Regions from separate parts of the Homo sapiens genome. Here all the other regions are linked to region 6. The links are contacts of gene promoters, found by promoter capture Hi-C in blood cells and fetal thymus (Javierre and others, 2016). All regions are on one chromosome and are shown on one strand. The core of a region is centred on a gene start or on the middle of the fragment in contact, and the rest is flanking DNA. Distances in the headings are between cores, read along the strand shown. Region 1 has its middle 31 kb from the start of CST5. Region 2 overlaps NAPB (NSF attachment protein beta). Region 3 has its middle 33 kb from the start of GGTLC1. Region 4 overlaps NAPB (NSF attachment protein beta). Region 5 has its middle 15 kb from the start of GGTLC1. Region 6 holds the start of ACSS1 (acyl-CoA synthetase short chain family member 1). Region 7 holds the start of LINC01431 (long intergenic non-protein coding RNA 1431).

Region 1 (3,328 bases), core at 556-3,055, 1.1 Mb after region 6:
CTATACTGAATAAACAGAGAGACCCTGGGGACAGCCTGTCTCCCACTGTGTGTATCTCTCTCACTCTCACTCTCTCCCCACCCTCCTCTCACCCCCTGTGACCTCCTCCTGCTTCTACTCCTCACCTTTCAGGGTGTAGTTTGGGACAGGATGCCTTGGGCTATGGAGTCCACCTTTCACTTATGAGCCATGTGCTCAAGAACAAGAGCCAAAGGAACAATGGAGAAGATGGAAGGAAACCACCTGGGCCCCTGCTGAGGACACTGCAGCAACTCTGTGAACACCATCCCACGACCTTTGGTAAATGACTGCCGTCATCATGGGAGAGGCAGCCAGTGTTTCTCAGGACTCCTGCTATCTGCAGCCAGGACGCTCCCAGGAACAACGGAGCTCACACACCACTAAGTGTCCATCCCAGAGCCCGCGTTTCAAATAAGGCTTATTGTGCGACAGGAACAAAATTTAACTGAAAATTGTATGACTTGGCACCTTGTCCTCAACCTCCCTCCTACTTATTTCTTCAAAAATGCAAGGAGTTATGTTACCTGCTCAGCCTTCCTCATCAGATGTATAAAGAAAATTAGGAGAGTGAAATTATTTCACAAGAAATTAGGTGAGTAAAAATATTTCACAAAGTTCAATACAGATAGAAGCTTTAGTTTTCATTTCACTAAGATTGGAGGAAGGATTAAAAATGTTCCAGTTGAATAAGAGATTTTTGAAAAAAGGTGAATTTCCAGTGAGGCTGGAAAGAAAATTGGAAATCCAATTTTTTTTTTTTTTTTTTTTTTTGAGCAGGTCTCAGGTCTGAGAACATTTGGAACATCCTACCTCTCAAATCCTGAGAAGGGGAGATATCCAGTCTTCCAGACAGGAATTGTCTCATCCTCAAAACGTTCACAGACCTAACACCCACTGTAGTTAAAAAGGCAGGATATTCTGTGCTGTGGGTCTTGACTCCACAAGCTCTTGGTTAGGGTTCCTGGAAACAGACTCAGATGGAGATTCATAGGCAAGAGGCTCACTGAGGCATGTGCTGGGAGGCAGGGATGTGGGTCGGGGCAGAGGGAGAAGTCAGGCAGGGGTGCAGCTCAGCAGAGGCCACAGCCAGGCCCATGGAGAGCTCTGTAATGGGGATGGCCTCAGAGTGGTAACATATCGGGGCAAAAAAATCAGGCCTTTGTATCCCCATAGAAGCCATTTATTTGAAATAGGAAATTCCTGGCTAATTTTTTTTGTATTTTTAGTAGAGATGGGGTTTCACCATGTTAGCCAGGATGGTCTCGATCTCCTGATCTTGTGATCTGCCCACCTCGGCCTCCTAAAGTGCTGGGATTACAGGCATGAGCCACTGTGCCTGGCCCCTATTTTTTCTCCTGTTCTAAGTTAATATTATAACATATTAGGTTGGTGCAACACATTAAATAATAAAAACTTTTTGGGAGTGGCAAGATGGCCAACTAGAAGCAGCTAGTGTGCATGGCTCTCATGGGCAGAAACAGAAGGGGTGAATAAATATAACATCTTCAACTGAAACATCCAAGTACTCACTGGGATTAATCAAGGAAACAACTTGACCCACAGAAAACTAAAAAAAGCAAGACAAGAGAACAGCCCACCTGGAAGCAATACAGAACCAGGGGATCCCCACCCACCCAGGGAAGGGGTGAGTGCATGATTGACATCAGGAAACCATGCTTCCTCCATATGTCTTAGCAACCCTCATGTCAGGTGATCTCCTTGTAAACCCACTCCACCAGGACCTTCAGTCTTCAGTCTGCCAGAGAAAGCTGTGTGGAGTTTCAGCAGAGCAGCCACTCAGGCATGTGTGGAGACCCTGGAGTCTTAGATACTTGGGCTTTCCAGCAAAAATAGCTGCAGCTCCAGCAAAGTGGGATAGACTACTCTGTGTAACCGTAAAAATGGTTTGAATCCAGGGGGCTGAGCAGCAAAAGCCCATGGTCCCCACTTCCATGGCACCTCACAAGACAAGACCCACTGTCTTGAAAGTCCAACCAGCTACTAGTAGCAGCATTGCACCTCCCTAAGAAGGAGCTCCCGGGAGAAGGGGCAGGCTGCCAGCTTTGCTATTTGGCCACCTTAGCTGTTCCAGCCTTCAGACTTTGGAAAGTCTGAGCCGACCTGGAAAGAAGGGATCCCTCAGCACAGCCCAGCTGCTCTATTAAAATGTGGCCAGTCTGCTGCTTTAAGCAGGTGCCTGATCCTGTTTCTCTTCACTGGGCAGGACTTCCCAACTAGAGCCTCCACCCGGTTCCACCTGAGATCTCCAGCCAATACAGATCCGAATTCCCCCTGGGATGGTGCTCCCAGAGGGAGGAGTGTGCTGCCATCTTTGCTGTTTGGGTGACTTAGCCATTCCAGCCTTTGGGCTTTGAAGTGTCTCAGGTGGCCCAGGGGCTGAAGTGGACCCCAGAATAGCACAGCTATTCTGCCAAAACATGGTCAGACTGCTTTTTTAAGTGGGTCCCAATCCCATTTCTTCTTACTGGGTAGGACCTCCCAACTGGGGTCTCCAGCCACTTTCTACAGGTGCCTTTGGGCTGGCAATAGGTCCATACTTCCCTGAGACAAAACTCCCAGAGGGAGGGAAATGCTGCCATCTTTGCTGTTTTGTAGCCTTCGCTGGTGACATCTCCAGGTTCTGGAAAATCCAGGTGACTAGGGACTGGAGTGGGCCCAAGCATACCACAGCAGCCCTACAGAAAAGTGGCCAGATTGTTATGTGGGTGTCCATTCCCATATCTCCTCACCAGGCAGGTCCTCCAGGCCTGGGCCTCCAGCCATGCCCCACCAGAGCTATTAAGCCAGCAGCAACTCAGCAATTCCATGTACAGAGCCTCCAGGGGCAACTGAAAGTCTCTCTGCCGCTGCCCTTGCCACCTTTGCACTAATGAATAAGCAAATACCCTAAGTGCCTTAACCTCCAACAAGCTTCAGTAGACCCAAGGAGAGGAGGTCAGTCTGTCTTCCAGGGATCCCACACACTCCTCATAGTTCGTCATTGGACAGGGAACCTTGGCTTGGGCCCACAGCACAACCCTTCATCTTAGACTGATTGCATGGAGCAATTGGTGACCTGCATCTCTCTGGGATGGAGCCCCCAGGAGTCAAGCAAAATGACTCTTGGCCACAACCACTACGAAGATCCCTTCCACTGCTGCCTCTAAACTGGGGAAAAAACATAACACTGGGATCACCACAGAGCTGCAGTGGGCAGCCTGGGGTGCCAAGTCATGAACTATAGCCAGCACTCAAGGGCGAGAGAAACTCACACTTTCAGAGCACTGAGAGGGAACACAGCTGCAAC
Region 2 (3,113 bases), core at 242-2,741, 1.6 Mb after region 6:
TTCAGGTTGTGGCAGTCATTAAAAGCTGCTTGGCATATTGCAGATATTTCACATCACAGACATTCTGAATGCTCTATCTGCAGATTAAAGCCTGTCATGAGTTCTCTAGTGTTTACCACTCACAGTGGTTTTGTGGCAATACTGTATTCTTAGTAGTATTCTATAGCTTTTGTTTCTTGCTTTCAGTAAAATTAGATGAAAATATGCATATGTATTTATGAGAACATGTCAGTCAAATATTTCTTCTCTGTGTAAGGCACAAATCCTCTGCCTTATCTGCTTGATAGGTAAGGTATCAATATTCCTTTCCCATCCCCACCTTCCTCCCCAGGAAAAGAGCTGACAAGGGATGCAAACATTGCAGGAAACCACTGTTGTGGTGGTTTGTGTTTCTGCTTAATTGCCCGTTAAGCAGTAATGTGCTTTTGTAGTTGTGGAATTAAAACTTTTTCTCAAGTTTGTAGTATAGTACGTTTAGTAAAACTACTTCCAAAGGAGTTGTCTTGTCCTTTAGTTTGTTGCCAGGGATGAGCTATGGAATTTTGTAGTTAATTTCAAATTCCAGTTTATAATGTTAATGAACTACTGGTATGATTTTAAATCGGCCTGAGTCTGACATTAAGATAGTTTTGAATTGGAAAAGCCTCTTATAATACTATCCCCTCCATCTTGTTGCTATGAGACCCGGTTGGGAATAACCTGCACAATGCACATAGAAGAAAGTGCTTAAGACTGACAGTGGAGGCCAGGTGCAGTGGCTCACGCCTGTAATCCCAGCACTCTGGGAGGCCGAGGCGGGTGGATCACTTGAGGTCAGGAGTTTGAGACCAGCCTAGCCAACATGATGAAACCCCGTCTCTACTAAAAATACAAAAATTAGCCTGGCGTGGTGGCGGGCGCCTGTAATACCAGCTACTTGGTAGGCTGAGGCAGGAGAATCACTTGAACCTTGGAGGTGGAGGTTGTAGTGAGCTGAGATTGTGCCACTGCACTCCAGCCTGGGCCCCCGAGCGAGACTCCGTCTCAAAAAAAAAAAAAAAAAAGAATGCCAGTGGAAAGATGTTCTTTATGGTTAATGCTGTCTTCCTTTGCCTTTCAGTGTTTAGTCTGAGTTTACACAAGAGCTACAAATTTGGCAATGTCAATGTAAATTTAATGAAAGGCCCCATTGGGTTATCTTGAAATAATTATGAATCTATAATTTGTTGGTTGTTTGTGAAAATTGTGAATATTTCTTAAGCATTGTAGACTGTAAATTATCAGTATTCTTCACTTGTGTTTATTTCAACAAAGATTGCTTTTAAGTTTGGCCAAAATATGGTGGGGCCATGTGATAACATAGGTGAAGCATTTAGGTTTTCCTCAGTTACAATTCTTGTTCAAATGCAGATTGAACTTTTAAAAAAATTATTAGGCTCAGGTTTACTGACAGAGACAGGTGATACAGTATAAGAAATATATACGTATATTTGTGTATCTTTCTCAAAAGAAATCGATTATAAATTGAACAATTATTTTTATAAATTATATAATATACGTAAGAAATATAATTATATTATTATTCATGGGGAGACCAGGTAGAGGCTCAAGTTCTCTCATTTACTATTTTGGTGACTATAGTCAAGTAAATCATACTCAGAACTTGTTTTTTTTAGTTTTCAGATGGGCAGAGAGACAGAATCTGTTTTTCACGATTGTTAAGGATTGAATGAGGTCAGAATGCTTATTCAGTTGCACAGAGCTATATAACTTTATTATAATTGTTTGGTTTTCTGATTTTAGGTTGTTACAGCTTGGTATCAAATGATAAACTGTTACCAGACTGGCCTTTTTCTTGTTGCATTTTTGCAGTTTTCTCCACATATTCTTTCATTCTTGTGAGCTCTGTGAGGTGCAGTTACTCTGGAGAGAGGGAGGGCCAGTAATCATATGTGGCTCCTTGGAAGTCTGCCTGTTTTGTTGCTGTGGCTAACACCTCACCCAGCCTGAGGCATGCGTTAGGCACGTGGTAAATATTGGTGGAGAGAATGAATGTATTAATGCTAATACAAATGCTGATGTTTTTTCTTTTATTCTTACCTAGTTTTCAAGAGCAAAGCTATACCAAGTAAAGGAGAGTTTAAGTCGCTTTCTTCCGTTTTATTTATGTATTTATTTTTTTGAGACGAGCTCTCACTCTGTTGCCTAGGCTGGAAGGCAGTGGCGAGATATCTGCTCACTTCAACCTTGACCTCCTGAGCTCAAGAGATCCTCCCACCTCAGCCTCCCAAGTAGCTAGGACTACAGGCATGCACTACCATGCCTGACTAATTTTGTATTTTTTGTAGAGACAGGGTCTTGCTATGTTGCCCAGGCTTGTCTCCAACTCCGGGACTCAAGCGATCTGCTCTGCTGACCTCAGCCTCCCAAAGTGCTGCGATTACAGGTGTTAGCCACTGTACTAGGCATTTTATTTAAATATTTGCTTATTATGAACATTGTAGCTGTACACGGTAGAAAAGTACAAGGAGTACAGAGAGTTTTCTTTTTTTTTGAAATGGAGTCTTGCTCTGTTGCCCAGGCTGGAGTGCAGTGGCATGATCTTGGCTCACTGCAACCTCTGCCTCCTGGGTTCAAGTGATTCTGCTGCCTCAGTCTCCTGAGTAGCTTGGATTACAGATGGGTGCCACCACACCCAGCTAATTTTTGTATTTTTAGTAGAGACAGGGTTTCACCATGTTGGCCAGGCTGGTCTTGAACTTCTGACCTCATGATCCGTCCACCTCGGCCTCCCAAAGTGCTGGAATTACAGGCATGAGCCACCGTGCCCAGCGCAGAGAGTTTTCAGTTGAAAAGTAAAGTTCTCTGAGTCTTCTTTTTACGTAATCTCACTCCCAAGAAGCAACCATTTTTAACTTTCTCATTAGTTTTTCTGATGGTTACCACCATATTTCTAAATAATTTTAGAGCACTTCTACTTCCTGATATCTTGATTTTCAGACAGTATCTGTTGATTTTGCTAAAAATGATGAAAAATTTATTATAACTTACATGGTCTTACATTTTCCCCTTTACCTCCTCATTTTACTTAGTTATGTCTCAATCTCTATTACCTTTTATATATAAACAGCATA
Region 3 (3,075 bases), core at 336-2,835, 1.0 Mb after region 6:
GCTGAGACAGGTGAGAAGAAAGGAAGAAGAGGACACCTAGGCCCCCGCCTGGTAATATCATGAGCGGTTCCTCTCCTGAGGAGCAGCTTCTGTTGGGATCATTATCTAAGCAATTAGGGGTTTCCACTCAATTTGCAGGCTCGCTGATTGTTATGCATGTCTCAAAGCATCAGGCAGTAGAGGAACTAATCAGCACTTAATTGCTGAAAATAAAATCCAGAGAATAAGGAAGAAAACACAAAGAAAAACAATTCTCTCATTATTTCAACTTTTCTGCACCACTCCCAATTACACAGTAAATCACCTCTTTTCATAGCTGCTGTCATGACATCTGTGTGGGCCTTGGGGTCACTTAATTTCAAGCTGCCTTTAAAACCAGGTCCTCTGAGGAACAGATATTTGTTTTATGCTGATGCAATTAAAGAAGCTAATTTCAATTTTGAAGCACACAAGATGTATGCAAGTTAATAGCTTTTCGGCTTTTGGCCTCCAAGCAGAATGAAAAGCTTGTTGTTCAGCTTTAATAACCTGTGGGACAAATCTGAGTGTTCATATAAATTGGAAACCTTGCTCTTAACTATTTTTTTCATACAATTGCTTCCTGATACAAGGATCCTTATCTTAAATCCTGTAAATCTTCAAAAGTCTTTTGTTTCTTGTGCATCTGGCTGTGCCATTTATTTGGGGTGTCATAAAGGGAAAATGAAGTAGAAACAGGCACCTCCCAGGACAGCCTTGCAAGCTGGAACTCAGAGCACTTGGGGCACTGTGGCTGTGATGACCCACCTCAAGGTTGTTCTCCTCCATGCCTGCCCCATGTCCTTTGCCTTCCTTGTTCAGAGTACACATTCATGCAAGTGACAGATATCAGCTTTCCTCTACATCATGTTAGTTCAGTTGCTTGCAATTTGCAAGTGGCCCTGCTTCTCTAGTAGGGATCCTGCAATCTCCCTTCATGTATTTTTATGTGCAGCATAAAACTGCACAGGAGAAAAACTGGAATGAACTTATTGGGAGCAGGAAACACATTCATTAAGAACCCACGGTTTTTAGGGATATGCACCTTGCACAGTGGGGCACATGAAGCATAATAAATATTAACTGAAAGTTTGGTTTAGGCTCATTCCCCCAGAAGCAGACCTTGAGGAAAGGATCCAGAGCAGGAATTGGTTTGAGTGGCGATTTGGAGGGAGCAGTGGTGGGGAGCACTGTGGAATACCTCTCTTCCCCTCAAGGGAGAACTTGCCCAGCTGCAAGGAAGGCGGGTTTCTGCAGCCTTCACTGGCTGCCACCAGGATCTGCCCCTGCTTTCCTACTCAGACAAACTCTTTGCAGGCCATCCCTGCCACGGCCTGCACTTGGCTGGTGCTGCAGCCCAACTCAGTGCACCCAGCATTGGACGCCTCTAATGGGCAATCTCTGGGTTGGCGGAGCCTTCCTCAGTCAGCACCACAGTCCAAGGCTCCCCCTGCCCAACACTGGCCCTGCACTTGGTGTCAGGTTTTCTTCCCCAACTGTATTAGCGTTTTCTAGAGGGACAGAACTAATAGGATATATATCTATATATATTTTTATGTATATATACACACACACACACACACATATATATATACACATATACATACACACATATACACACACACATATACACACACACACACATATAAACTCCCCTTTATATATATAAAAAGGTCTGGTCACGCTTCTGGTCTTGTGGTCATAGCTGGTATTGATGACTACATTCTTCTACCCATTCTGTATTCCCTTTGCCTTTAGCAAGTGCCTCAGCAGGTTGTGTGTGTGTGTTTTTTTTTTCCTTGTGGAGTAAGCCAAACCTTCATTCCTAAAGAGTCTGGGCAATTTGTAGTCCTACCTGGATTGGGCTGTTGTAGTTTCCCACTGTGAGATCTGAGAAGAGCAATTACAGGGCTCTTCAGAGATGCAGGTGCTGCCCTCACAAATCTATTTTGCAAGGCATTGGTCAAAGGTATATCTTCTGGATGCTCCCAGTTGGAATAAGTAGATCTAAAGTGACTAATCCACTCCACCATCCCAATCTCCCAATGCCTTTGAATCCCTTCCTTTACATTAAACCAAGGGAGATCAGGCATTTCCAGCTCGCTCATAGTAGGCCATCTTTTCATCCATATTTCAGCTAACCAAACAAATAAACTATTAGAACCCTTTTTAACTCCCCAAGCTGCAATATTAAATGCAGAGTCCCTACTTCGTGGGCCCAAAGCAATAAATTCAGCTTGATCCAACTCTATGTTCCTTCCACCATTATCCTACACCCTTAATATCTATTTCCATGCCTGTTCTCCAGATTTCTGCTTATATAAATTAGAAAGCTCAAGCAGTTCTTTTCGAGTGTACTGCAACTCCTCATGGGTCACACTCTCAACCTTATGTCTAGGGGCCCGCTGGGACTTTAGTCTAGTTATAGGTCTCGAAGAAAACAGGGGTGTTGGGGGTGGCTCCTCAGGAGAATCAACATTATCTTGCCTGGCAACTGCCTTGAGGCCATCATCACTGTTGCCTCAGGCAGCACAGGGTTTAACTCCTCAGACAAAGGTGGAAAGGCTGATGGCAGCATGGGTCGGGGAGGGGATGTTGCCACTACTGGGGATAGGGAAGCTGTTTCTTCTGGCAAAAAAAGCTTCATCAGAGTTTACAAACTCAGTGTCCCCAGTGTCATCAGGGTCCTCCCACACATCCCCATTCCAAGTTGCACGGTCCCATTCTCTTCCTATCAATGCCCTCACTTTAACAGCAGACACCTGGGGAAGCTCTGCATGCACCTTTCGTTGCAGGTCAGCCACTCGCATTGTAAGAGCTTATGTCTGTTTTTCCACAATTTTAGTTATTTCTCTACAGGAGATAAGACCCTCACTCAGGGCAGTCTTACCAGATTTGAGCCTCAGTATCTGCTTCTGAAGCTGGGAGTTAGAATCCCGGAGTTCATCATTTTCTTTTGTCACTTTTTCCACCAAACTTAGGAGCAACCAACCAGCTTCATTATGTTCCTTGGTTCTCCACATATAGTCAAAGGTATTATGTATAGAGTCACCAAAC
Region 4 (3,399 bases), core at 155-2,654, 1.7 Mb after region 6:
ACATTTATTTGAACATGACTCCAGCATACCTTAAGTTGTATTTTCCAAACGTCACCTTTTATATATCACACAAATTAAACAGTTCCATTAGCCATGCTGAGATTCGACTTACACTCAAAACTAATTTAGCTGTGAGACTAGTTCAGGAGCAAATATTCCATTTATATTCTTATAATTTGCTGTTTTAATTTTTTCTTTTGAAAATAATCTGACCCATAAATAAGTATAAAGTAAAATTAGTTAAGGCCAGGCACGGCGTCTCACACCTGTAATCCTGGCACTTTCGGAGGCCGAGGCAGGCAGATCATGAGTCAGGAAATTGAGACCATCCTCGCCAACATGGTGAAACCCCGTCTCTACTAAAAATATAAAAATTAGCCAGGCATGCTGGCACACGCCTGTAGTCCCAGCTACTCGGGAGGCTGAGGCAGGAGAATCGCTTGAACCCGGGAGGCAGAGGTTGCAGTGAGCTGAGATTGCACCACTGCACTCCAGCCTGGTGACAGAGCGAGACTCTGTCTCAAAAAAAAAAAGAAAAAAAAAATTAAATATAATTTAAAATATAAAAACTAAGTAGTGAGAATTTGCTGTATTTGTGGCATGAAATAAATGGAAGGTGGCCAGGCACGGTGGCTCACACCTATAATCCTAGCACTTTGGGAGGCCAAGGCGGGTGGATCACCTGAGATCAGGAGTTTGAGACCAGCTTGGCCAACATGGCAAAACACCATCTTTACTAAAAATACAAAAATTAGCCAGGCATGGTGGAGTGTGCCTGTAATACCAGCTACTCGGGAGGCTGAGGCAGGAGAATCTCTTGAACCCAGGAGGTGGAGGTTGCAGTGAGCCAAGATCACGCCATTGCATTCCAGCCTGGGCAACAAGAGTGAAACTCCATCTCAAAAATAAATAAATAAATAATAAATATATATATATATTAAAAATATGAGGGTTTTTTTCTTTATACTTTTTGTTTTTCCATCTTTTGCCATCTCATGTTTAGAATCAAGCAAAAAAAAATGTTTTTATATATTTTGAAACAGATCCTCACTCTGTCACTCAGGCTGGAGTGCTGTGGTGTGATCACGGCTCACTGCACCCTCAACCTCCTGGGTTCAGGTGATCCTCCCACCTGAGACTCCTAAGTACCTGGGACTACAGGTGCACACCACCACCCCCAGCTAATTTTTTTTTTTTTTTTTGCATTTTTTGTTGAGACAAGGTTTCACCATGTTGCCCAGGCTGGTCTCTTAACTCCTGGGCTTAAGCTATCCACCTGCCTTGGCCTCCCAGACTTCAAGGATTACAGGCATGAGCCACTACATCCAGCCTCAAGCAAATTTCTCAGTAGCCTCCTGTAACATGTTCATCACAGCTCAGGAGTGATAGAGGAAAGGAATGTTTTCCTGTCTGACTTTTGCCTACCACATCATTTTCATCCTATTGTAATTTTATTTTTGGGTAATGCATTGAAATGTGTTAATTCCGCTTCCATACATATTCTAACTCTGTAATTAATGTTTTCCCATGTTCAGTGAGTATTAATTTTCCATATTCCTTTCAAATTTTTATACAATATCCAGTTACTTTTGCCACAATAATTATGACTGTTAATGAATTTTTTTCTTACACGTTTGAAAACAGAGAAATGTCAAGCCCAGGAACTTGTCACTAGTATCAAAATAGTAACAGGATAATGAAAAAATAAACAATTTTTTAATGAAGAAAGTTATAAACTGGAATGATTAATTTCAAATGATGAAGAAAGTTAGTAGATTATGGCTGTAAAGGTATAAACAGCTTGGGGTACTATTATTTTGTGTTTTTAATGTATTTACATGGGGTAATTCCTGTTCCTCTTTCCTTATACTAGGTGAAGGAATTTGACTCAATATCTCGCTTGGATCAGTGGCTGACCACCATGTTGCTTCGCATCAAAAAGTCCATCCAAGGGGATGGAGAAGGAGATGGAGACCTAAAATGAAATGTTTTTGTCTTTGTGGCATGCAGCTAACTCCTCTTTAGTTTTGTCTTAGGGTCAAGTGATCTTTATGGGATGCCTATTTAATGGCTTAATTTTGTTGCATATGAGCCAGACGGCCTGTGTATTGTTTAAGCTCGCCAAGTCTGTGTTGCTGTGAAATGAATGAAGGAGAGGCTCCTGTTCATCTTGTGGTAATGATGGGTTGTTTCATGCTTATCAGAACCCCCAGCGTTTTCTGAGAAGTACTTCAGAATCTCATTCCTCATATTTCATTGGTATTTGTGGAGCCTATGTTTAATGTTGCCACGTGTTTTTATGTCCTTTTTGTTGGACTTGAGTACTCAGCCCAGTTGTTCTCATAGATGCTTTGCATTTTCTCTGTGCTTTGGCATCTGAATATGTTCTTTAAATGTGTGTTTAGTTTAGGACAGTTACTAGGAATGAGTTTATAACTTCATTAGAAATCATTTCTATTTTTGTTATCCTGTGATTATTTTGATGGTGCTAGTGACTAGTTTCTTTGCTTTTTGTGTTGTTCCGTATGCTAACATGTGCATGGCAAAAATTTAGAATAGCCAGGGTCTGTAGGCATCACATTGTGAGGAAGGGAGCTTTCTGGAAGTACTTGCTTCATGTATGGATGAGTGTCAAAGTGAATTTGATTTGTACTTAGACACACGCGTTTACACACACACACATATCACAAGATCTGTTAGAAATGGAATTTTTCTCTTTTTCTGGAGATAGTTTTCACTTTTAGTTGGAGTGGAAATCCCTTTATATTTACATTGAAGTATTTTAATTGGCATAGCCTGCTCATTATTTTCATGTTTATACACTTTCCCACGTTGAGGTGGTGTGTTCTGTGCTGTGACTATAGAAATCTTGGTCAGGGCTGGATAGATTATCTAAGTCAAGCTTGAGAATGAATGTATGTAATTTTCCTGTTTATTGTACATGATGGGTTAGGTGGGGTGAATGTGGTACAGGAATGTCCTGTATGCCCAAGTGGGCAAGAACCCCAACTTGTTTCTCAGGGGACTTGATTGTTCTCTTAGCTGGTGGAATATGTTGGCTTATGTGTTTGAACTCTGTCGTGTTTAATTGGTTTATATAATATATGTATGCTATCTTGATTCATGAACTTGATCCTATTAATTTATATGCTGATATTGTACTTTAGACATACGCTTGTCTCCTGAATGTCCTCTGAATATTTATAGTTAAATGATTTATATTTGAAATGTGTTGCCAGACTTAACCCAGCAGACACTCTGACATCACGGAGCTTCACTGATGACAGGTAACGAAACTTCCTATGTTATGTCAGGTAGTAGTAAGTAGTATTGGAATGATGTTTTCATTTTTGGTGGCTCTCAACTGGAATTGGTAGTGTTTCCAGGCCAAGGGTCGAC
Region 5 (3,520 bases), core at 943-3,442, 1.1 Mb after region 6:
ACTGGAACCACACTTCAGCCCCAGAGTAAGACATCTCCGAAGCAGGTCCTCTACCCTCCAGGGGTCTGCCCCAGAGGGTGCCCCAGAGAGCAAGGCAAGCTCTCTCCACCAAGCCCTGCAATCTTCAAATTCATGAGCAGAATAAATAACCACAGTTGTGTCAAAAGACAAAATCACAACAAATTTAAAGATCTTAATTGGCTTTTATGTGTGATTCGTGAATCAGGGCAGCCTCCATCCTACAAAATAAAATGAAAGCTTGAAAGCTTCCACCAACCAGTAGCAGAACAGTGAGTTTTCTAAGGGGAAAACAAGGAAACAAAACCATAGAAAAATAACTGATCAATTAATAGCATTAGGTTACTTCTTTGTGAGAGTTAACGCAGGACAGACTTCCTTATTGTGCCAGCTAAAGCTGGCCTCTTTGGTTATATTTCTCTCTCCTGATTTCTCAGAAGGTCAAGTAGCTTAGTTTTGGTTTGGTGACATGGAACTTTAGCATGAGTGACTTCATTTTGCTTTGGTCTGCTGGGGCTGGTAAAGGGGTCTACTTCCAGGGGAGAGTATTTTTAAGGCTACGTAGCATCAGGGCCACAGGAGGCTCTTGTTGACAGAAATGACTGCAATATAACCAGGTCTGCTTGAGCCCTAAGTAGGCACAGCTGATGGATGTCCTCTACCTTTCTTATGTGTCAGCCTCTTAGAACATCCCTGTGGGGTTAGATGTTTCTGTAAGCCACCCAAAGGATAACTGACAAGCTTATCTGTCCCGAGGGGAGGGATGAATAGACGGTAGTATGACATTGTGATTTATGATAAGAAATATATATTTGGTTTTTGTCCTGCTCCCTGGCACACAGCTCCTAAAAAGCTTGGAGTCTCCAAAGTGACAAGTGTCTGTTTCTATGCGAATGTGGTGATTGACCCCGGACCGCCTCAGGAGGGGGCCTGGTTGTCAAGGGGACGGATGGCATACTTAGAGGGCCAAAGGGCCTGCTCAGGCGAGGCGGTATTCCTCGGGATTCTTTTCTGCAGTGGATAAGGAGATAACAGGGAGGAGAAGGAAAGCAACTGTTCTCCTTGGGGGTCGGTCTTTATGCAGATAAGGGAAAACTCTCTTGGCCTCTGTTGATCTCTAAGGATTTTCAATTCAAAATACTCACTATACTAGGGAGCCATATTTTTGGGTGAAGTTCCCTGGGTTCCTTCAGTGCTATAGGTGAGGAAATGTAATTTCTTTTCTTTCCCTTATAGATTCTTAGTTTAGACTTGCTTGAAAACAAAAGTCAGATTAACAAGAGAAAACCCAGCAGGAGTTTATTAACACTTGCTGTACCCATCACCTGGGAAAGGCTTCAGTTCAAAATTATTTCTCTCTCAAGGCAGTGGCTTAGGGGCCAATACTTAAAAAGTATTGGCCGGGTGCAGTGGCTCACGCCTGTAATCCCAGCATTTTGGGAGGCCGAGGCGGACAGATCACTTGAGGTCAGGAGTTCAAGACCAGCCTAGCCAACATAGTGAAACCCTGTCTCTACTAAAAACAGAAAAATTAGCCAGGCGTGGTGGCAGGCATCTGTAATCCCAGCTACTCAGGAGGCTGAGGCAGGAGAACCGCTTGAACCTGGGAGGCAGAGGTTGCAGTGAGCCGGGATTGTGCCACTACACTCCAGCCTTGGCAACAGAGACTCCACTTAAAAAAAAATTATTTTAACAAAGAGCCATAAATCCTATTTAGTGACAAGACAAAGAAAAGAGCATCTTCAGGCTTAAAAAAAGTGAGATACATGGGAAAGTAATTGTGGGAAGAGTAAAGCCAGCTCCTAGATTCTCTGGCGTGGCTGTCTCTGAGCTTATAAGCAAGTGTTGGAAAGGGGCCTGTCTTTAGGTGGGAATGACAGAGAGGAAGGAAGAATACCTTGGTTTTGTAAATTGCTGTCCTGCTACCTGGCAAGCAGAGGCAGGGCGGAGTCTCCCTGCATCTGAATCTTCTTAAGCTCCATAATCCTCAGTAGGTAGGGGAGAATATTTTGGTTTCTTTCAGTGCATTAAGCTAATATATGTCACCTGAAATCTGCACCCTGACAGAGCAAAAGGCTTGGCATCCCACGGGACAGTAGCATATCCTCTTAGGGGCCACACTTTTGTAATATGAGTATGTCCAAAGCGAAGTTACAGACTGTTTTTCTCACACTTGCTTCCACTGTGAGACCCACCGGGATAATCATTCTGGCCTCTCATCACATACACTTAATTTTCGAGTGTGACTTTTCTTCTACTGGTTCTTTTTTGTTTACCATTTTGAAGGTCTGTTATTCACATATTGGGTATCCTGGATTTGTTCTTCAGGTCTCTTTATATTGCCTTGTGGCTTTTGTGTCTCTGTGTGTGTGCATGTGTGTGCGTGTGTGTGCACGTGTGAGTGTGCGTGGGTGTGCGTCTGTGTGCATACGTGTGCGTGTATGTGTGTGTGCGTGTGTGCATATGTGTTTGCACATGCGTGTGTGGGTGTGTGTACGTGTGCATGTGTATGTATGTGTGAGTGTGCTTGTGTGCATGTGTATGCATGTGTGTGTGCATGTGTGTACATGTGTGTGTGCGTGTGTGCATGTGTGTGAATGTGTGTGTGCGTGGATGTGTGTCAGTGTGCATGTGTGTGTGCATGTGTGTGTGAGTGTGCGTGTGTGCATGTGTGTGAGTGTGCATGTGTGTGCGTGTGTTCACAGGATTGCAGAATGTCTACCTGGTCCCCCACATCTGTATATCAGTTATCCGCTGTGACCATCTCTCACTTCATCTGTTAAACATTTTCATTTAATTGAAAAATCCATTCTTCTGTCTATAGATCCTGAGAGTATTTTGTGTTCTAGCTACGTCTCCTAGGGCTTGTCATTTGTGGTTTTTGTTAAGTTCTCATGTAGCTCTCTCACCAGTTCAGGGGGAGCTGAGTGTTACATTACTTGCTTTGGACTTCCTTGCTCTGCACGTACTCAAGGGCTCCGGAGGAGCTGAAACTTTTCTTTGCCTGCTCCTCCTGGTGTGTCCTCTCCTCATCCAGACCCATCAGGCTTTTAGGGCGTCTGGGGCAGGATGACTTCAACAGCAAGGGAAGATGTATGACTCCTGCTCCCTGAGGATGTGCAGGGAGTGGGCTGGCAAATCATCACCTTCATTTTGGAACATGGAAAGGACGTTTTTCTGCTTCAAAATGCCAAACACAGTCTTCACCCAACCAGAGAAGCTGCACACAATCCAACCCAACATCAATTTTCTCTTTCTCCAGGGTCATCAAGACCAGAAAGCTCGAACTGCACCTGCACACTGCAGCTCTTTCCTGGAGAGACTCATAGACTTCGGCTGGTCAAGCCACACTGGGGTATAAATAACCTTCACAGCCCCCAGAATAGCTGTGTCTTTCAATTACATGCATGACTCCCCAAGAACCATGCCCTCAGGTGTTCATACCCTCAGGTGGTTCGCCCTGCTCAAGTCTGGGATGATCTTGTAAAAGCTTTACCCAATT
Region 6 (3,495 bases), core at 187-2,686:
GCTGTAGTGAGCTGTGATGGGAACCATTGCACTCCAGCCTGGGCTACAGGCCCTATCTCTAAAAAAGTATCATAAATAAATAAAGGAGAAAATGCAGGTCAAGCGCTAGCACTGTGCAGGGCATGTGTTATGCTAGTAGATGTCACTGATTCTCCAGCTCTAGGTACACTCCTGTCTTCTCTGGCAGACAGCAGCATTCCCCAGCAGGGGCTGGTGGCTAGCCCACGCAGAGGCTCCTCCAATGGCAGGCTCCTCCCCTCTGCAAGCCCTACAGCTCAAGGGAAAGAAACTTTCCCATCACAGAGAACTCAATAAACCAGTTTTCCAAAATCTCTCTTCCCTGTGTTTACCCGTTTGTTATGAATTTACTTCTTGGGTGTCAGAATATTTAAGAACTCGGTGGAGACCAGTTTTATACGTTTCCTTCTGTCCTTCCTGGCTCCACAGCTGCAAAAACATCATCCCCACTACTGAGCTTACTATGGGGCCACGCAAGGGTAGACGCTTGACAGACATTGTCCAATGTATTCCTTACTGCAGCTGCCCACCCCCGCCGTCCCCGCCCCCCAGGGAGACATTACTTCCGTCTTCCCCAAAAGGAAAACGAGGCACCGAGAAGTTAAGGAACTTGCTCAAGGTCACAGAGTTTGAACTCAGGCTACAGATGCTGCAGCAACTGGAGAAAGTCCTCATCGCCCCATATCACCCACCACCGACCCCCAGCAGGACGTGACCCCCGCCAGGACGGAGGCCGGCAGCTGGGGGGCTGGAGCATGGGACCCAGAACACGGACTCAGGCTTGCGCAGCCTCCTGGCTTCTAGGCGGGAGCCTAGAAAGGCGCCAGCCCCTTTCGCGTGCTGCTGAGACTCCAGGGGTGGGGTTCACTCTCAGGGGCGCACAAAGGCATGAAAACCTTGGCTTCAGCCTCTGAGATGCGGAACTGACCGACCTATTGTCTTGGGACCCACCAGTGCGCTTGGGTGCACCAGCCCCCTTAACGTTGGTGCCGGCTCCCTCCCGGCTCCTCCCCATCCCAGAGGGTCCCCTCGCCCCAGGCCCTGAGCCTGCGTCCTGGGGTCCTGGGCCGCACGTGCCTCTGGCAGCTCGAAGAAGCTGTCGGGGCTTGCAGGAGAGCGTGCAAACTGAAACCAAAACAGGCCGACTCGAGGAACATCCGGGTGGGACCGCAGACTCACCGGAGCGCAGCGCCTGGGCCAGGGCCTGGGACCCTGCTCCGCCCCGCGCTCCCCTGCACCCCTTCCCCACGCTGCTCCCCTCTTCCTAAGCGGCCCCCCCTCTCCCGGGCAGCAGAAGAAGGGGTGGGACCCGGGCGGGCTCCGGGAGGGGGCCCTGGAGGAATGGATGGTGGCGGAAGGGCGGAGCAGGGGCGGGGCCCGCGGAGACTCCACGGGGCGCCCCGGGCGTGAGGCACCCACTCTGGGAGCACAGAGAGCTCAGGTAGCCTGCCTAGATGGCGGCGCGCACCCTGGGCCGCGGCGTCGGGAGGCTGCTGGGCAGCCTGCGAGGGCTCTCGGGGCAGCCCGCGCGGCCGCCGTGCGGGGTGAGCGCGCCGCGCAGGGCGGCCTCGGGACCCTCGGGCAGCGCTCCCGCAGTTGCAGCAGCAGCAGCACAGCCAGGCTCGTATCCCGCGCTGAGTGCACAGGCAGCCCGGGAGCCGGCCGCCTTCTGGGGGCCTCTGGCGCGGGACACTCTCGTGTGGGACACCCCCTACCACACCGTCTGGGACTGCGACTTCAGCACTGGCAAGATCGGCTGGTTCCTGGGAGGCCAGTTAAATGTCTCTGGTGAGTGGGCTTCGGGAGACCCAGGACGCCCCCAACTCTTGGGTCCCGAGGGGACTCGGAGCCTCTCGCCAGCGGCAGCCGTCCCCGGGCAGCGCGGATCGCAGCCCTGCAGGGGCCCCTCCTCCGGTATTCCGTCCGCCCCGCCCGCTCTAAGCAGTGGCTCCACGTCACCCCGTCCCTCATCCCATCGGGCCCCAGATCCACGTGCCCAGCTCGGGCCGGCGCCCGCGGGGACCCGGCGGCCGCTTGGGACGCCCCGCTGCTGGCCTTGCTCGGCGCGGCTCCTCGCTCGGCGGACTCCAGAGTTGCGTTACCGGGTGCATAGCGCCGCTGAGCAAGAGCCGGCGGGGAGCCGCGGGCTACACCCGAGCGCCCCGGAGTCGGGACTTTCCCGTTCCCATACCGGGGTGGAGGGAAAAACAAAGCGGTGGCGGTTGTCACTGCGGGCTGCGGTGCCCGGGGATCAGCCTGGGGACAAGCCCTGCCCACGTAAACAAACAGAGCTGTGGCGGGCGACCTGGGGAGGAGGAAACTCGGCGTGGCAGCTGGAACCAGTTATTTCTTCGCTGCGGGCCTGGGGCCTGGGGCCTGTGGACGGGAAGGAAGTAACGGCGGCCTCCCCGTTCTCGTTCTCGGCCTCAGAGAACTGCACCCCAGCGACCTGGGGCCTGCTTTGGACCCGCGGGGTCTGACGTCGGCCCCAAACAGTTGACTGGTGGTCAGTTGTTTGGAACTTGCTGAGCAGAGGCCCTGCTGCTCTGCTAAGATTTGGGGCTGGGGGTCGTACACAGCACCCTCGCCCCCACCTAAGGCGCTGACTGGGCACCGAGGGGGAGGCCCTGAACTGCAGGCAGGGCTGGCCACGCAGGGTGGGTGCCAAGTGCGAGGTGGGCTCCGGATGCAGGGTGGGCCTGGGTGTGGGGCCTGCGGGGAGGGGCTGGCAGACACGGTGTTGATCAGAGGGATGCAGACCAGAAGGGTGGTCATAACCAGCTTGCTGGATTTGGGAGTGTTTAAGAAAGGACCTGCGGGTCTTTATGGCAGGGTCACCAGGGCCCCATTTTCTCCAACTCCTCCCTCAGTTGTCCTTGTTGTTCTGCCCCCCCAGCCCTCAGTCTCCTCATTGTGAGGATGGGGGCAGTCATGCTCAGAGGTTAGGCTGAGTGCTGCAAGGTGTGCAGCAGACCCAGCGCTTACTGGTGACCCATAAGCAGTAGCGATTTTAGATAACTTCAGAAATAGTCATACAATTATAGATAGTGTCTTGCAGTTATTTTTCAAAGAAATTGGAAGGAACTTTGGACCTCCCCCACTCCCCGAAATTGTATATTACTTTGCTGGTTTAATTAAAATGAGTCACTTACTAGATAAGTGTTTTCTTTAACATTGAGTCAGCAGCAAGTGCCCTTGAACTAGTGGGAAAAAAACCAAACCCTTTGGTTTGCAGAGTTGGGGCAATGTGCCCTTGAAGGAGACTAGAGCAGCTTGCCCAAGGACAGAGGTGGAAAGTGACCTGCTCTGGACTTGTGAGGCCAAGGTCATGGGGAACATTCACAGTTGGCCTGTGCACACTTGCAGCCCCACTCAGATAAGACAGTGGGGCGGACCTCCTGGGGCCAACAGCAAGGACCTTCTGAACCTCGCTCGGTCAGGATCAGGGTGTGGTCAGCAAGCATTCTTCTGTCTCCT
Region 7 (3,056 bases), core at 373-2,872, 1.7 Mb after region 6:
CTGGGCAATAGAATGAGACTCCGTCTCCGATTATGTTAGCTAGCATAACATAATGCTAGCTTATCCATTCAATACTGAAAGGATTGCTTTAGTTGAGTGTCTTAATAGCTTTAAAAATAGAGGTCATAAGACTCACAGACTCTTTGTGGCAATACTAAATGATAAAGAATGAAGGGCCATGCCTGGCAAGGGTTGTCATGCACCTCTACACTTCAAGAAGAAACTATGCCTTAACTGCCACAAGGTTTTTATTCTCTGGCAGCCAAACAAGCACTGGCCTCTAGATAAGCAATATTCAAACAATGTGCTTTTCATCCACCTCCACATGCTGACTGACACGCCCCCTGCCCCAGCCCCACCACTTCCACAAATAATTACTGCTTTGATTGGACCAGAGACTGACTGCAGTAACTTTTTCCTGATGGGAAACAACCGAACAGGGGCTGATTCTGGCGGTTTACAGAGGCTGCACACAAGTGCATCGGTGTCCTGAAAAGATCTTTCAACTTATAGGGTCTAAATGTAATACATGAATACCTGTAAATGCTAAGAGTCCACCCCAAAGTAAACATAGGTCACCTGTAACATGCACGTTTGTCCAGTAAGCATGGGTCAGGACCCGTTTCATGAATATTCATAGCTCTTCCTGTGGCCTGTTCATATGTGTACTTGGCTAAGTCCTTCAGCTTAAATTCCTGTCTTAGGCCCCCTTCCCTCCAGCTGCCTGCCTTTTGAGCTTCTGCCAGAAGCTATGCTTCCCAGCCTGTCAGAAGGGCCACCTTGCAGGTTATCACCGTTTAAAGAAATAAAGCTCTCCTTTCTATGTTTGTGATCTTTTTTTTAAATAATACAAATAGACAATTCACTTGACAGTGTGAATGGCATACTTCACTGACAATGGAATACTATAAAAACAATAATAAACCACTGATAAACATCAACCTGACAAAGTTAAATATAGTGTTTCATGCTGTAGAACTCTGCACGAGAAAAGTACACGGGAGTGAACAATTGTTACGTAAGGGCGTTCACTGCAGTGCACTTACATTAGTGAAACTTTGGAAACAATCTCACCTATAAGGAGATGGCCGAAGAATTTGATATATCCAAGCACTGGATTATTATGCCGGTCATTAAAACAATGTTTAAAAATATGTGTAATAGCTTGGGGAAATGCTCACCATGTTATAATGAGTAAAGACGGTACACTATTTTACATAGGGTCTGATGTGATTTGAAAACAAATCTATAGAAATAGACTGGAAAGAAATGTATCAAATTCTAAACTGCACAAGGAAGAACACTGACGCACGCGCAACGCCGGCGCCCTGCCCACTAGGCGCCCTCGCTGCCCCTCACCTGCACAGCCGGCGCACGCCCACAGGCTCGTGAGGGAGCGGCCGGTGGGTCAGGCTGGGCGGCACTCCTCGCCCATTGGCTGTCCCGGAGTCCGGCCCCGCCTCTCCCCGCCTTCTGGAGCCGCTGGTATAGCTCCTTCCAGGGCTCCTTGGAGACGGAGGGCGGGGCTAGGGCGCCGGAGTCACGTGGTCGCGCCACCGCGCGATTACTAGCTGTCAAAAGAGTCCTCAGAAGTGTCCTGAGCGGTCGCAGGGTAATGACGTCGGCCGTATCGGGGATGCTGGAACCTGCGGTTGAGTGAGAAACCGGCGCCACCGCCTGCGTCTTGGTCTCGGGCTGGTGGCCAGCGGGGTCTGGGCGTGGTTTTACCCAGCTCCTTTGCGAAGCTGCTGTCCTTTCCTCAACGTTACCACCCGGCTGGGCAGCCTACCCTCGGTCAGTACGTCCTGGCAAGAGCGCTTCGGGCGTGGCGTTCGTGTCGCGGGGGCCTCGGCTCAGAAGCGAGGGAAGAGCAGCCCTCAGAGGAGCGGCGACCGCGCTTACCGGGAGCCCGGGTTGGGAGAGGGCTCCCCAGGAGGGGTGTGAGCTCCGAACGAGAAAGAACGCCACCGCCTCGTGGGGTCTCTTCCTAATGTGCAGATTCCAAATCTCTACAATGCTGCAAAAGAGGTTACAGTCCACATCAAATTAAGCATGCCCTAAAGGGCAGCTGGGGTTCAGTTCAAGAGTTGAGTTTTAACACACACCTTTACCTGCCTTAAAATTGGGCAAGGTATCACAACGTTAAACCATTTCTCACAAGGCTCGTTGGTGATGTTTAAGATTTTTTGTTTGTTTGTTTGTTTTTTGTTACGGAGTCTCGCTCTGTCGCCCAGACTGGAATGCAGTGGCGCGATCTTGGCTGACTACAACCTCCGCCTCCTGGGTTCAAGCGATTGTCCTGCCTCAGCTTCCTGAGTAGCTGGGATTACAGGCGCCTGCCACCACGCCCAGCTAATTTTTCTATTTTTAGTAGAAACGGGGTTTCGCCTTGTTGGCCAGGCTGGTCTTAAGTTTTGCATCCTGGCTCCCTCCTCTTACCTAGTCCCAGCCTCTTGTCTACAGGACAAAGCAACTTTCTGCAGTTTTCTGTTTGCTCTTTAGAGAGACGGGGCCCTAATTTGGCAAAGTGGTAGGGGAGACAGGGCTGGTGTTTAAGGTCGACCAAAGCAACATCTAAATCTCTGCTCTTCCCCCAAATTGTCCAAATTAGCAGCAACAGGTGTGCACCTTCCAAGCTTGCAACAGACCACATTCAGAAGCTTGATTTCTTGTTGTTCTGGGAATATCTGGATCAGAGGTAACATGGTTCACTAGGACTCCTCAGCTTCACCCAGTGTCCATTTCACCTCCCCCGGCCTTCCAATGTCTCTTCTTGCAGATTTCTCCAAGCCACTCTCCCCGTCATCTCCTCCACCCCCAGGACCCAACTCCTGCCCCTCCCACCCTAGCCCCTGTTCTCCCTGCCCACCTCCTACCCCACTGGAGTGGCCTTTCATCAAACCTAAACCAAAGAAACCAACAGACCTTGCTGTCACCACTACTCCGGGACCTGGAAGTTAAAGCGAGGGAGAGACGGTGAAACACAGAAAGCAGAACGCCTTCTGTTCTTCCACAACACAGGGTTTGTGGACGTGGCCACTATAAGAACTCGCACT

Evidence for each region. Contacts are between HindIII fragments. The CHiCAGO score rates a contact against its expected background, and 5 or more counts as called.
Region 1: a fragment that was not itself captured here is called in contact with the fragment with the promoter of ACSS1 in region 6 in 6 of 17 cell types (naive CD8 T cells, total CD8 T cells, non-activated CD4 T cells and 3 more); the score reaches 7.8 in naive CD8 T cells.
Region 2: a contact is called between a fragment that was not itself captured here and the fragment with the promoter of ACSS1 in region 6, in 1 of 17 cell types (total B cells). The highest score is 7.4, in total B cells.
Region 3: a fragment that was not itself captured here is called in contact with the fragment with the promoter of ACSS1 in region 6 in 2 of 17 cell types (naive CD4 T cells and non-activated CD4 T cells); the score reaches 5.3 in naive CD4 T cells.
Region 4: a fragment that was not itself captured here is called in contact with the fragment with the promoter of ACSS1 in region 6 in 1 of 17 cell types (total B cells); the score reaches 6.7 in total B cells.
Region 5: a fragment that was not itself captured here is called in contact with the fragment with the promoter of ACSS1 in region 6 in 1 of 17 cell types (naive CD4 T cells); the score reaches 6.2 in naive CD4 T cells.
Region 7: the fragment with the promoter of LINC01431 here is called in contact with the fragment with the promoter of ACSS1 in region 6 in 14 of 17 cell types (total B cells, naive B cells, total CD4 T cells and 11 more); the score reaches 45.2 in total B cells.

What each region holds. Positions count from the first base shown.
Region 1 is chr20:23,909,164-23,912,491 of GRCh38, reverse strand. No RefSeq gene overlaps it. Among named protein-coding and RNA genes, the nearest start is that of CST5, 31 kb to the right of the region's middle. The HindIII fragment of the contact is 2,299 bases long and covers 656-2,954 here.
Region 2 is chr20:23,415,014-23,418,126 of GRCh38, reverse strand. The region is part of intron 1 of NAPB (NSF attachment protein beta); the gene reads left to right. Among named protein-coding and RNA genes, the nearest start is that of NAPB, 4.9 kb to the left of the region's middle. The HindIII fragment of the contact is 3,803 bases long and covers 1-3,113 here.
Region 3 is chr20:24,020,055-24,023,129 of GRCh38, reverse strand. No RefSeq gene overlaps it. Among named protein-coding and RNA genes, the nearest start is that of GGTLC1, 33 kb to the right of the region's middle. The HindIII fragment of the contact is 2,153 bases long and covers 509-2,661 here.
Region 4 is chr20:23,375,961-23,379,359 of GRCh38, reverse strand. It overlaps NAPB (NSF attachment protein beta), which reads left to right. Exons shown (of 11, transcript NM_022080.3): 11 at 1,874-3,399. The coding sequence ends at 1,984. Among named protein-coding and RNA genes, the nearest start is that of GZF1, 15 kb to the right of the region's middle. The HindIII fragment of the contact is 3,001 bases long and covers 1-2,904 here.
Region 5 is chr20:24,002,136-24,005,655 of GRCh38, reverse strand. No RefSeq gene overlaps it. Among named protein-coding and RNA genes, the nearest start is that of GGTLC1, 15 kb to the right of the region's middle. The HindIII fragment of the contact is 2,637 bases long and covers 874-3,510 here.
Region 6 is chr20:25,056,080-25,059,574 of GRCh38, reverse strand. It overlaps ACSS1 (acyl-CoA synthetase short chain family member 1), which reads left to right and starts at 1,436. Exons shown (of 14, transcript NM_032501.4): 1 at 1,436-1,806. The coding sequence starts at 1,473. RefSeq lists enhancers at 955-1,560, 2,211-2,340 and silencers at 1,181-1,710, 1,841-2,110. The HindIII fragment of the contact is 7,356 bases long and covers 1-3,495 here.
Region 7 is chr20:23,356,693-23,359,748 of GRCh38, reverse strand. It overlaps LINC01431 (long intergenic non-protein coding RNA 1431), which reads left to right and starts at 1,622. Exons shown (of 3, transcript NR_109884.1): 1 at 1,622-1,794; 2 at 2,612-2,698; 3 at 2,780-3,056. RefSeq lists a silencer at 1,287-1,476 and enhancers at 1,527-1,916, 2,107-2,196. The HindIII fragment of the contact is 4,137 bases long and covers 1-2,638 here.